3 separate regions of the Homo sapiens genome follow, and regions 1 and 3 are each linked to region 2. Evidence: promoter capture Hi-C in human tissues and cell types (Jung and others, 2019). All regions are on one chromosome and are shown on one strand. Each heading gives the region's core, a stretch centred on a gene start or on the middle of the fragment in contact. The rest is flanking DNA. Distances are from core to core; before and after follow the strand shown. Region 1 has its middle 3.7 kb from the start of SECTM1. Region 2 holds the start of NARF (nuclear prelamin A recognition factor). Region 3 holds the start of UTS2R (urotensin 2 receptor).

Region 1 (2,906 bases), core at 227-2,726, 120 kb before region 2:
AAGTGCTGGATTACAGGCGTGAGCCACTGCACCCGGCCGTATCTTTCCATTTCTATACAATGCTGGGATCAGGCATCTTAGAGCGGATGTGTGGATTCATTCACCCTCAGCCTGTCCTTGAATCACAGCCTCTGCTGTGCCAGGTGACATGTGGAGTTTCATTTCCTTTCTGTTCGAGGAATTTGTAGATTTCAGTTATGATTTTCTGTTTAACTCTCCAAATTATTCGGCAGCATATTCTTAAAATCCCCAAGGTCCTGGAGCATTTGCTTTTCTTTTTTTTGGAGACAGAGTCTTGCTCTGTCGCCCAGGCTGGAGTGCAGTGGTGCGATTTCGGCTCACTGCAACCTCCGCCTCCCTAGTTCAAGCGATTCTCCTACCTCAGCCTCCTGAGTAGCTGGAACTACAGGCACGTGCCGCCACGCCCAGCTTTTATTTATTTATTTATTTTATTTTTGGTAGAGACGGGTTTCACTATGTTAGCCAGGCTTTTTTTTTCTTGAACTCCTGAGCTCAGGCAATCCACCCGCCTCGGCCTCCCAAAGTGCTGGGATTACAGGCGTGAGCCACTGTGCTGGCGGCATTTGCTTTTCTTTGTAACTTGATTCTCTGGGTTCCCTTGCCTTTCATCCTTGCCCACCCACGTGACTGCAGCCTGTGGGGCTTCCTCCTAATGTCCCGAAGATAACTCGTCATCCTTGACCCCGCCGCCACCTCGGGTTCTAGTGGAGGATGTGGCCCGCCTGCCACCCCCACAGGCACCGGGTCCTCCAGGCCTCCTTGACCCACTTCCAACCCACCTGGGATGTCTGCGCGTTACCAGCCCAGATGCCTCTTGGAGCCTTCCACCTGCACCCCATCTCCTGTCCCAACAGGCTGGGCCCCTCCTCCCGGGCTGGCCAAGCCAGTACCTCCGCAGGGGCCGCAGGTGCAGCACCCTCTGTGGGGGAGCTAGGGGGATCGCTCCTCTGCTCTGCGCACTTTTATGAAAGGGCCTCTGACCCTCCCACTGTCCTGCTCACTCTGCCCGCGCACCCCCGGCCACCTGGGGGCCGCCCCCCAAAGCCCTCGGCCCGTGGACAGACTCGCAGCCTCCTGGGAGCCGAGCCAACCGGCCCCACAGATTTGTGCATGACTCAGTTGTACCCACTGCTCACTGGCTGGAAGGGTCTCACGGGTCCTTCCAACATGTAATATTCTCTGACTGTTGGGAGCAAGGGTCTCTGCAGGTGTCCCTCCTGTCAAGGTGTCAGTGGGGTAGGTTAGGTCTTTTATATACTTGTCAATTTTTTTTTTTTAAGACGGAGTCTCGCTCTGTCGCCCAGGCTGGAGTGCAGTGGCACGATCTCAGCTCACTGCAAGCTCCGCCTCTCGGGTTCACGCCATTCTCCTGCCTCAGCCTCCCCAGCAGCTGGGACTACAGGCGCCCGCCACCACGCCCAGCTAATTTTTTGTATTTTTATATACTTGTCAATTTGTATGGGCTTGAGCTATCAGTAATTAAGAGAGATAGGTTGGAATGGCCTCCTATGGTGGGGGCTTAGCAGCCTCTTCTTGTGGTTCTAGGAATTTTTAATCATATATTTGGAGGCTTTTTTTTTTTAAGAGATGGGGTCTCCTGTAGTTGACCAGGCTGGCTTGCAGTGGCTGTTCACTGGCAGGATCGTAGCTCAATGTACCCTGACCTTCTGGGCTCAAGCGATCCTCCAGCCTCAGCTTTCTGAGTAGCTGGCACCACAGGCAGGCACCACAGATAAAAAGTCTAAAATGTTTGCTTCAGTCTTTGTCGTTTTGTTGCTCTTGTTCTTGTCTTGTGCTAACCTAATTCTAATTTATCTATTTTATAATATTCGGAAGTTTTAAAATATGAGGCTAATTTTAAATTCTTACCCAGCATGTGTTTCTGCTTTTGGTGGAATCCACAACCCAGCTTGTTATTTTCCACCTGAAAAGGCTGTGCTCCTCGAACATCCAGTTATGTTGCCCTGAGCCCCTTCACTTGCCAATCTTCTTGGTATTTCTTTTGGGATTTCACTGTCTTTATAGCTTCACTTTATTTTAATTCTATTTATTTATTTATTTGGGGGGGATGGAGTCTCACTATGTTGCCCAGGCTGGAGTGCAATGGCACGATCTCACCTCACGCAACCTCCACCACCCGGGTTCAAGTAATTCTCCTGCCTCAATCTCCCTAGTAGCTGAGATTAGAGGCGTGCACCTGGCTAATTTTTGTATTTTTAGTAGAGACGGGGTTTTGCCGTGTTGGCCAGGCTGGTCTCTAACTCCTGACCTCATAATCTACCCACCTTGGCCTCCCAAAGTGCTGGGATTACAGGCGTGAGCCACCGTGCCCAGCTGTTATAGCTTAATTTTAGAAAGAATGGCATTTTTAGGGCTGGGTGCGATGGCTCATGCCTGTAATCCTAGCACTCTGGGAGGCTGAAGTGAGACAATCTCTTGAGGCCAGGAATTTGAGACCAGCTTGGACAACACAGTGAGACCCATCTTCACAAAAATAAAATAATGAGCCGGGCGTGGTGGCCAGTGCCTGTAGCCCCAGCTACTTGGGAGGCTGAGGTAGGAGGATCTCTTGAGCCTGGGAGGTCGAGGCTGCATTGAACCGAGATCAGGCCACTGCACTGTAGCCTGAGCAACAGAGCGAGACCCTGCCTCAAAGAGAGAGAGAGAGAGAGAGAAAGAGAGAAAGAGAAAATACTTTTAATAGTAATCCTTCCTAGCCAATGAGATAGGAATGCTGGGTGGTCATAGGAGAAATGAGAAATATCAAACAGTAATCTTGCAGAAAAGCAAGAAAGCAGCTGTTAGAATGAGCCACAGAAAGCAACTGTTAGAATGAGCCACGGAAAGCAGCTGTTAGAATGAGCCATGGAAAGCAGCTGTTAGAA
Region 2 (3,005 bases), core at 3-2,502:
AGAACCACTCCATGGTCAGTGTCTCTTATCAGTAAGGAATACTGGTCAATTGGGCCGAAACTGCAAATGAGAGAGTTGTTATCAGCGGTGGAGTCTTTCGAAAGCGCTGGTTTCCGTTAAGCTCTTAGCCAAGAAAACCTAATGGTAGTTAGCCAAGGGTTGGCCTTAATAACAGGTGTCTCACCTCCCATCTGTCATGGCTGAGAACTGCCTTCAAGGCAACCCTGGGATCTCCTTAGCCAGTAGGGGGTTCGTGTAGTCAGTTGGGGGTCTTTGGATTTCATTTTCATTTCTCAGAGGACAGGAAGGAAGGCTCTAACATGGGGAATCCTGAGAACTGCTGCTGTCTGTTAAATACGCCTACAAGTTATTTTTCTTATGTCACACTCTCCCAGACATGTTCTTACTTCTCATTTCTGATTTCTGTAATACACACACACTGATTTCATAAAACGTTTATGAGTCCAACACTTCCATTATAGCCCTGTATCAATGTTTTGCTTAGCTGAAATCAATTTCTTGGAGGAGTAAGTGTTATCTTTACTTTGTAAGCTGTAAGGGCCCAAATCAATGTACTTGGTAAAACTATCCATAGTGAACACACGCAAATGTCAAATGGCCATCATTTAGCATCTGCCCTCGGGCTTCCGGGTCCATCACGTGGTTACTGACAGGCAGGCCGCGCATGCGCGCTGCTACTCCGCCGAGCCTACGTGACACGACGTCAAGTGGCAATGGCGGCGGACGAGGGCTGTGCCCCCGGCCCGCCCCGTTAGGAGCCGCGAGTAAGGCGAGTGTCCAACGCCGAGCTGGCTGACAGAGCCCGGCCGCGGCCTCCGCGGGCCCAGGGGCCTCCAGGCCCCGTGACCACCGGACCGAGCACCCTGGAACGGCCCCAGCTTGGCCTCGGGACAGTCCGCGCGCTCACCGACTCCCTGGTGAACGCCGCTTGGCCGCCGCCGCCGCCGCAGGACCCACGAGAAGCGGAAACCGGCGCAAGGACCCGGTCCCCCCGGCGCCGTACGTGGAGTGAGCCTGCGGTCCGCCCCGCGCGCTCCGATTGGCTCTGGGGCCTGGCCCGCCCCTTCCCGACACTGTCATTGGCCTAGGCAAAGCCGTAAGGGTGGGGAATCCTATTGGCCCAGGGGTGCGGCTTGTCCTCTCCCGGTGCTCTCATTGGCCGAGCGCGGCCGTTGGGGGTGAGGCCGCGTCGGGGGAGGACAACAAAGGGCCGCGGGCGGCGGGCAGTGGTGTCCCAGTCTCCCGGTGCTTCCCTGAGGCTGAGGCGCCCGGCCTCCCGCCCGCCGCGCTCCAGATGAAGTGTGAGCACTGCACGCGCAAGGTGAGCGCCGCGGGCCGGGGAGGCGCGCGCCTGGTGCTTGTCCTGTGGGGCTCTGGGCGGCCGAGGTTGGCGGTCCGGGCCCGCCGCTCGCTCGCTTCAGGGCTCTTCAAGGCGCCCCCGGCCTCGGCACCCTGGGCCCGCTCGGCGTGGAGGCGGCCGGCGCGGGGTCCGCTGCGCTCTGCAGGGCGGGTTCGGTCTTCGCGGTTCTCCCTGAACTTGTCCATCTTTCCCACGCCCGCGAAGCGCGGAAACGCACGGAGACCGAGCCTCTCGTGCCGCGCACCACAGTCCGAGTAAACAGCGGTCGTGGCGGGAATGATCAGAAGCGTTTCGAGAGGGTTTTAGGCGTTTTCGAACCTGCCCCTCTGAGGGTCACCGAGCAGCCGGTGCAGGGGCGGAAGCGGGTGACGGCTGCTGACCGGCGCCTTCCGCGGTTGTCTCCAGGCCATGGCAACAACCGCGCAGCGCACGCAGGGGGGTTTTGTAGCTGTTATTGCCGGAATGGGCTCCTGTGGATGCTGCTCTGTGGCTGGCACTTCTGCGCGTGACGCCGTGGCAGGAGGCTTCCTAACATTCCATGGGTCGTTCATCCCCGGTGGTGGCTGCGTCCTATTCTAAGTACACCTGTGTCCAGGGGAATTCGCCTGTGGGGTGAAGGCTACAGTTGCTTCTGCTTTTTTATTATTGTAAACAATAGAGATGTGTGTGTGTCCTTCAGTACCTGTTTCACTAGAAGGGTTAGAAGGATAGAAGGCCAGGCACGGTGGCTCAAGCCTGTTATCCCAGCACCTTGGGAGGGGAGGCCGAGGCGGGTGGATCACCTGAGGTCAGCAGTTCAAGACCATCGTGGCCAACATGGCGAAACCCAGTCTCTACTAAAAATATAAAATTAGCTGGGTGTGGTGGCGCACACCTGTAATCCCAGCTACTCAGAAGGCCGAGGCAGGAGAATCGCTTGAACCCGGGAGGTGGAGGCTGCAGTGAGCCGAGATTGCGCCCCTGCACTCCAGCCTGGGTGAGAGCGAGACTCCGTCTAAAAAAATAAATAAATAAACTAAAAGAAAGGATAGAAATACATGAGCTTCATTGGTCAGAATGTGCACATTTTCTTAAGGGAGACGAAGTAAAAGTTCATTGATAATGTTCCTTTGCTTTTTTAAGGAATGTAGTAAGAAAACAAAAACTGATGACCAAGAGAATGTGTCAGCCGATGCACCGAGTCCAGCCCAGGAAAATGGAGAGGCAAGTAGATTTTTCAGTTTTGTATCAGCCCAGAGTAAACTACTGCTGCTGTTTTTCTCTTTGGGGGCTCACAGCACCGTGCACATCACTGCTTTAAAGAAGACTGAAGTACGCGGGCATGGTGGCTCACGCCTGGAATCCCAGCACTTTGGGAGGCCGAGGTGGACGGATCACTTGAGGTCAGGAGTTTGAGACCAGCCTGGCCAACATGGTGAAACCTTATCTCTGCTAAAAATACAAAAATTATCCAGGTATGGTGGTGTACGCCTGTAATCCCAGCTACTCAGGAGGCTGAGGCAGGAGAATTGCTTGACCCTGGAAGACAGAGGTTGCAGTGAGCTGAGATTGTACCACTGTACTTCAGCCTGGGCAACAGAGTGAGACTCTGTCCCAAAAAAAAGACTGAAATAGGCCAGGCGTG
Region 3 (3,244 bases), core at 564-3,063, 87 kb before region 2:
GAAAGAAAGCCCGTTGGCACTGGTAGTTCGGGGGAGCTGGCAAGCTCAGGCGAGTGGCCTCAGTGGTAAAACCAGCACTGGAGGCCAGGCACGGTGGCTCACGCCTGTAATCCTAGCACTTTGGGAGGCTGAGGTGGGCAGATCACCTGAGCTCAGGAGTTCGAGACCTACCCGGCCAACATGATGAAACCCCGTCTACTACAAACACAAAAATTAGCTGGGTGTGGTGGCGGGTGCCTGTAATCCCAGCTACTTGGGAGGCTGAGGCAGGAGAATTGCTTGAGCCTGGGAGGTGGAGGTTGCAGTGAGCCGAGGTTGCAGTGAGCCGAGATCGCACCACTGCACTCCAGCCCGGGTGAAAGAGTGAGACCCCATCTCAAAAAAATAAATAAATAAATAATAAAAAAATAAAATAAAAAATAAAAAACCCGGTGTTCGTGTCAGGGCAGGTCGTTTCAGCAGCTACTCGGTGAACTGGCTGAGGTGACAGCAGATCGTTTCGGCAGCTGGCTTGCGGGAAATTTAATTCTTGGAGCAGGCATTCTGGGTCCTGAGTGCTTTTCCCCAGCCCTAGCCCCTAGACTCCAGCTTAGTAATCAGCTCTCACAGAACCATCACGTCGGAGGCAGCCTTCCACCCCCTTTCCTCCCGCGCACAGGCAGGATGAGCTGCTCCCCTTTCGGGTCGGAAGCTGCAGCTGTATTTGGTTTCAGTTCGGCTGTTTTCAGCTCACAGAGAATGAACTGTCTTATTGTGTGACCCTTGCTCCGTCCAGCGGACGCTCGGAGACCAGAGGGACTTTTCCCGCCCTCTCCAGCCCAGCCTCGCCTCCCCAGCACGTGGCAAACGTCCCACGGAGGGGACTGGTGGGCATCTGGGGCTCCCCCGGATCCAGCTGATTGCAGGAGCCTCTCGGCCATTCACACTTGGCCACCTCCTCTCCCCCAGCAGAACCCCTTCAGCTTTAGGGGCCGGTCCGCGGCCTCAGGCAGCAGATGAGCCCCGGGCGGAGTGGAGTGGGCGAGGCCAGCTCCTCGCTGGGGGCCCTTTAGACCCCGTGTTCACAGCTCTCCAGCTCTCCTCTAGTCTAATTTATTAATGTTCTGTGTCTTTTTCTTTCAGGGGTTCAGCATGAGTGAAGGCCCACATCCTACCTCCGAGCAGCAAGTGAAACCGAGTGGGGGCCAGCACCCAGCTCAGGGGCTCGAGGGTGAGGCTGTGGGGTCCTTCCTCCTACCCCGCGGGGCCCTGCAGCTCCCAGCGTCACTTCCGTGGATGTGGCCACCACGAGTCCCTGCCGAGGCCTGGAGAGGCTGCGTGGGCTTCTAAGAGCATCTGTGGGAGACCCGCAACAGGGGCGGGGTCAAGGCCCCCAAAGAGCCCGTCCCCGCCTGGGCGGGTGACTCCCTCCCTCCCTTACCTCCTTTCTATGACCCTCTCGGGGTTTAGGGGTGTTCCTGCCCCCCACCTGCGCGCGGGCGGGTCCAGGGCTTGGTGGACACGGAGAATCCCAGGCTCCGTGCCCTGCAAACACGGGCGTGAGGGGCGCAGGGGTGAACGCTGGAGGCGGAGAACCCAAGAGGGGCTGCGGGGTCAGCCTTGGGGCAGCCGGGCTGGAGGCAGCTTCGCTCCGCAGACGCAGACGCGAGACCCGCCTGGGACCCTCCGCCGACCCCGCTGCGGCCCCGCGACCCCCGCGTCTTCCCGGCGCCGCGCGGTCAGCGCCGCCCCCTAGACACCCGGCGCCGTCCCCTCCGCGCGCCTGCTGCCCGCTGGGGTTATTTTAATACCGGGCCCTGGCGCGGGGCGCGGCGCATTCCCAGCTGGCGGCGGGCAGGTGGCGGCGGCGCAGAGACCCGGCGCGGGGCGGGGGGCGCGGCTTTGGTGGCGGGACTGGCGGGCGCCCCTGCCGTGTGCTCTGGAAGCCGAGGCCACCGCGGAGCCCCTCGCGCCCCCTCTGCGCTGGGACAGGGGAGCGCGCCTCGGAAAGTTCCCCGCGGCCCCGCTGCGCGAGGAGTTTGGAGCCGCGAGCGGCTGCCCCCACGCGCGACCCCAGGCTCGGCGGGCAGGTCTGGCCGCTCAGTGACCGGAGGCAGGTGGGTCCTCGGTGGGTGACCGGGAGCGCGCGGGGACTGCCGGGTCTGTGCCCTTCGGGGCCCTCCGCAGGGCTGGGCCGGGGTTTCGCGGTGGGAACCCACCCTGGGCGAGGGGAGCGGGGTCCAGCGAGGCGGCTTCTCCCGTGCCGTGGAACTTTCGGCCCCTCCCCTTCCCCCCTAGCGACCCTGGAGCAATCCTAGCGGCCCGGCGGCCGCTGTCCCCCTGCCCGTGACTCGGGCTCGCGCACAACTGGGGAGCCCGGTGCACCCTCGGCTTCTGCGCCGTCCCCTGGGTGAGGGCTCTGGAAATGCCCTGGGTGGGGGCAGCAAGGGGGTGAGGGTCCCCTGGACAGATGGAGCTGGGAGCTGCTCGGCCTGGTGGGAAAGGGCGGACAGGGCACATTTCCAGGCCCTGGAAGGCCCCCAGCGCCCCCACCTGTTGACAACTCCCCACCCCAGCCAAGACTGCTCCCTGCGCAGCCATGAGTGTTCGGCCTAAATTCAGCGTGGCTCGTGGAATCAGGCAGCCTCCTGTGTCTTGTTTCTTCAGCCCACCACCGCGCTGTTTCATCCAGGCTGCTGACCCCAGCGGCGACTCCTTCACTGGCTTCATGTCACAGTTTGCCTGCCCCGTCCACTGGGGACATTTGAGCTGTTTCCAGCTTCTTAGGAGTCAAGCTGCCGTGAACTTTCGCACGCTTGTCATTTTCTGAACGTTGGCAGCCCTTTATCTAAGGTACTAACCTGAGAGTAGAATTGCCGGGTGAGAAGGTATAGGCGGTCAACTCTGCAAATCGTGCCAATGGCTTTCCAAAGCGGCGGCACAGTCCAGGTTCCCAGCAACAGGAAACGGCAGGGCCAGCTCCTCCACAGCCCCCACGCCTGTTGACAAGGATATCTGCCTTTTCACGCGTTCATCCTTGTCAGCACGCAGGGGCTCCTGTGGCCCTGACTGGCATTTCCCTGCTTGTTGGCTGCGTGGGTGTCCTTTTCAGGAAGTCCCCGGTCACGGTTTTGGTCTCTTTTTTTCAAATGGGTTGTTTGTCTTTTCCTTACTAATTTGCAGTTCTTCCCTATATTTTTCTTACCAGCTTTTTGTCTATGTTTCTTCTTTTTTTTTTTCTCTGAGACAAAGTCTCACTTTGTTG

What was found. The method cuts DNA at HindIII sites, captures the fragments that hold promoters and counts their contacts. A contact is called where the count stands out against the background at its distance.
Region 1: a fragment that was not itself captured here is called in contact with the fragment with the promoter of NARF in region 2 in 3 of the 25 tissues and cell types used here (IMR-90 fibroblasts, dorsolateral prefrontal cortex and lymphoblastoid cells).
Region 3: a contact is called between the fragment with the promoter of UTS2R here and the fragment with the promoter of NARF in region 2, in 2 of the 25 tissues and cell types used here (lymphoblastoid cells and stomach).

What each region holds. Positions count from the first base shown.
Region 1 is chr17:82,336,005-82,338,910 of GRCh38, forward strand. No RefSeq gene overlaps it. Among named protein-coding and RNA genes, the nearest start is that of SECTM1, 3.7 kb to the left of the region's middle. The HindIII fragment of the contact is 4,127 bases long and covers 1-2,906 here.
Region 2 is chr17:82,457,489-82,460,493 of GRCh38, forward strand. NARF (nuclear prelamin A recognition factor) reads left to right here and starts at 1,253. Exons shown (of 11, transcript NM_012336.4): 1 at 1,253-1,342; 2 at 2,504-2,584. The coding sequence starts at 1,316. NARF-AS2 (NARF antisense RNA 2) reads right to left here and starts at 1,031. Exons shown (of 3, transcript NR_184099.1): 1 at 185-1,031; 2 at 1-60. RefSeq lists enhancers at 592-741, 1,175-2,007 and a silencer at 772-1,591. The HindIII fragment of the contact is 15,922 bases long and covers 1-3,005 here.
Region 3 is chr17:82,369,952-82,373,195 of GRCh38, forward strand. UTS2R (urotensin 2 receptor) reads left to right here and starts at 1,814. Exons shown (of 3, transcript NM_018949.3): 1 at 1,814-2,096; 2 at 2,647-2,832. The HindIII fragment of the contact is 34,629 bases long and covers 1-3,244 here.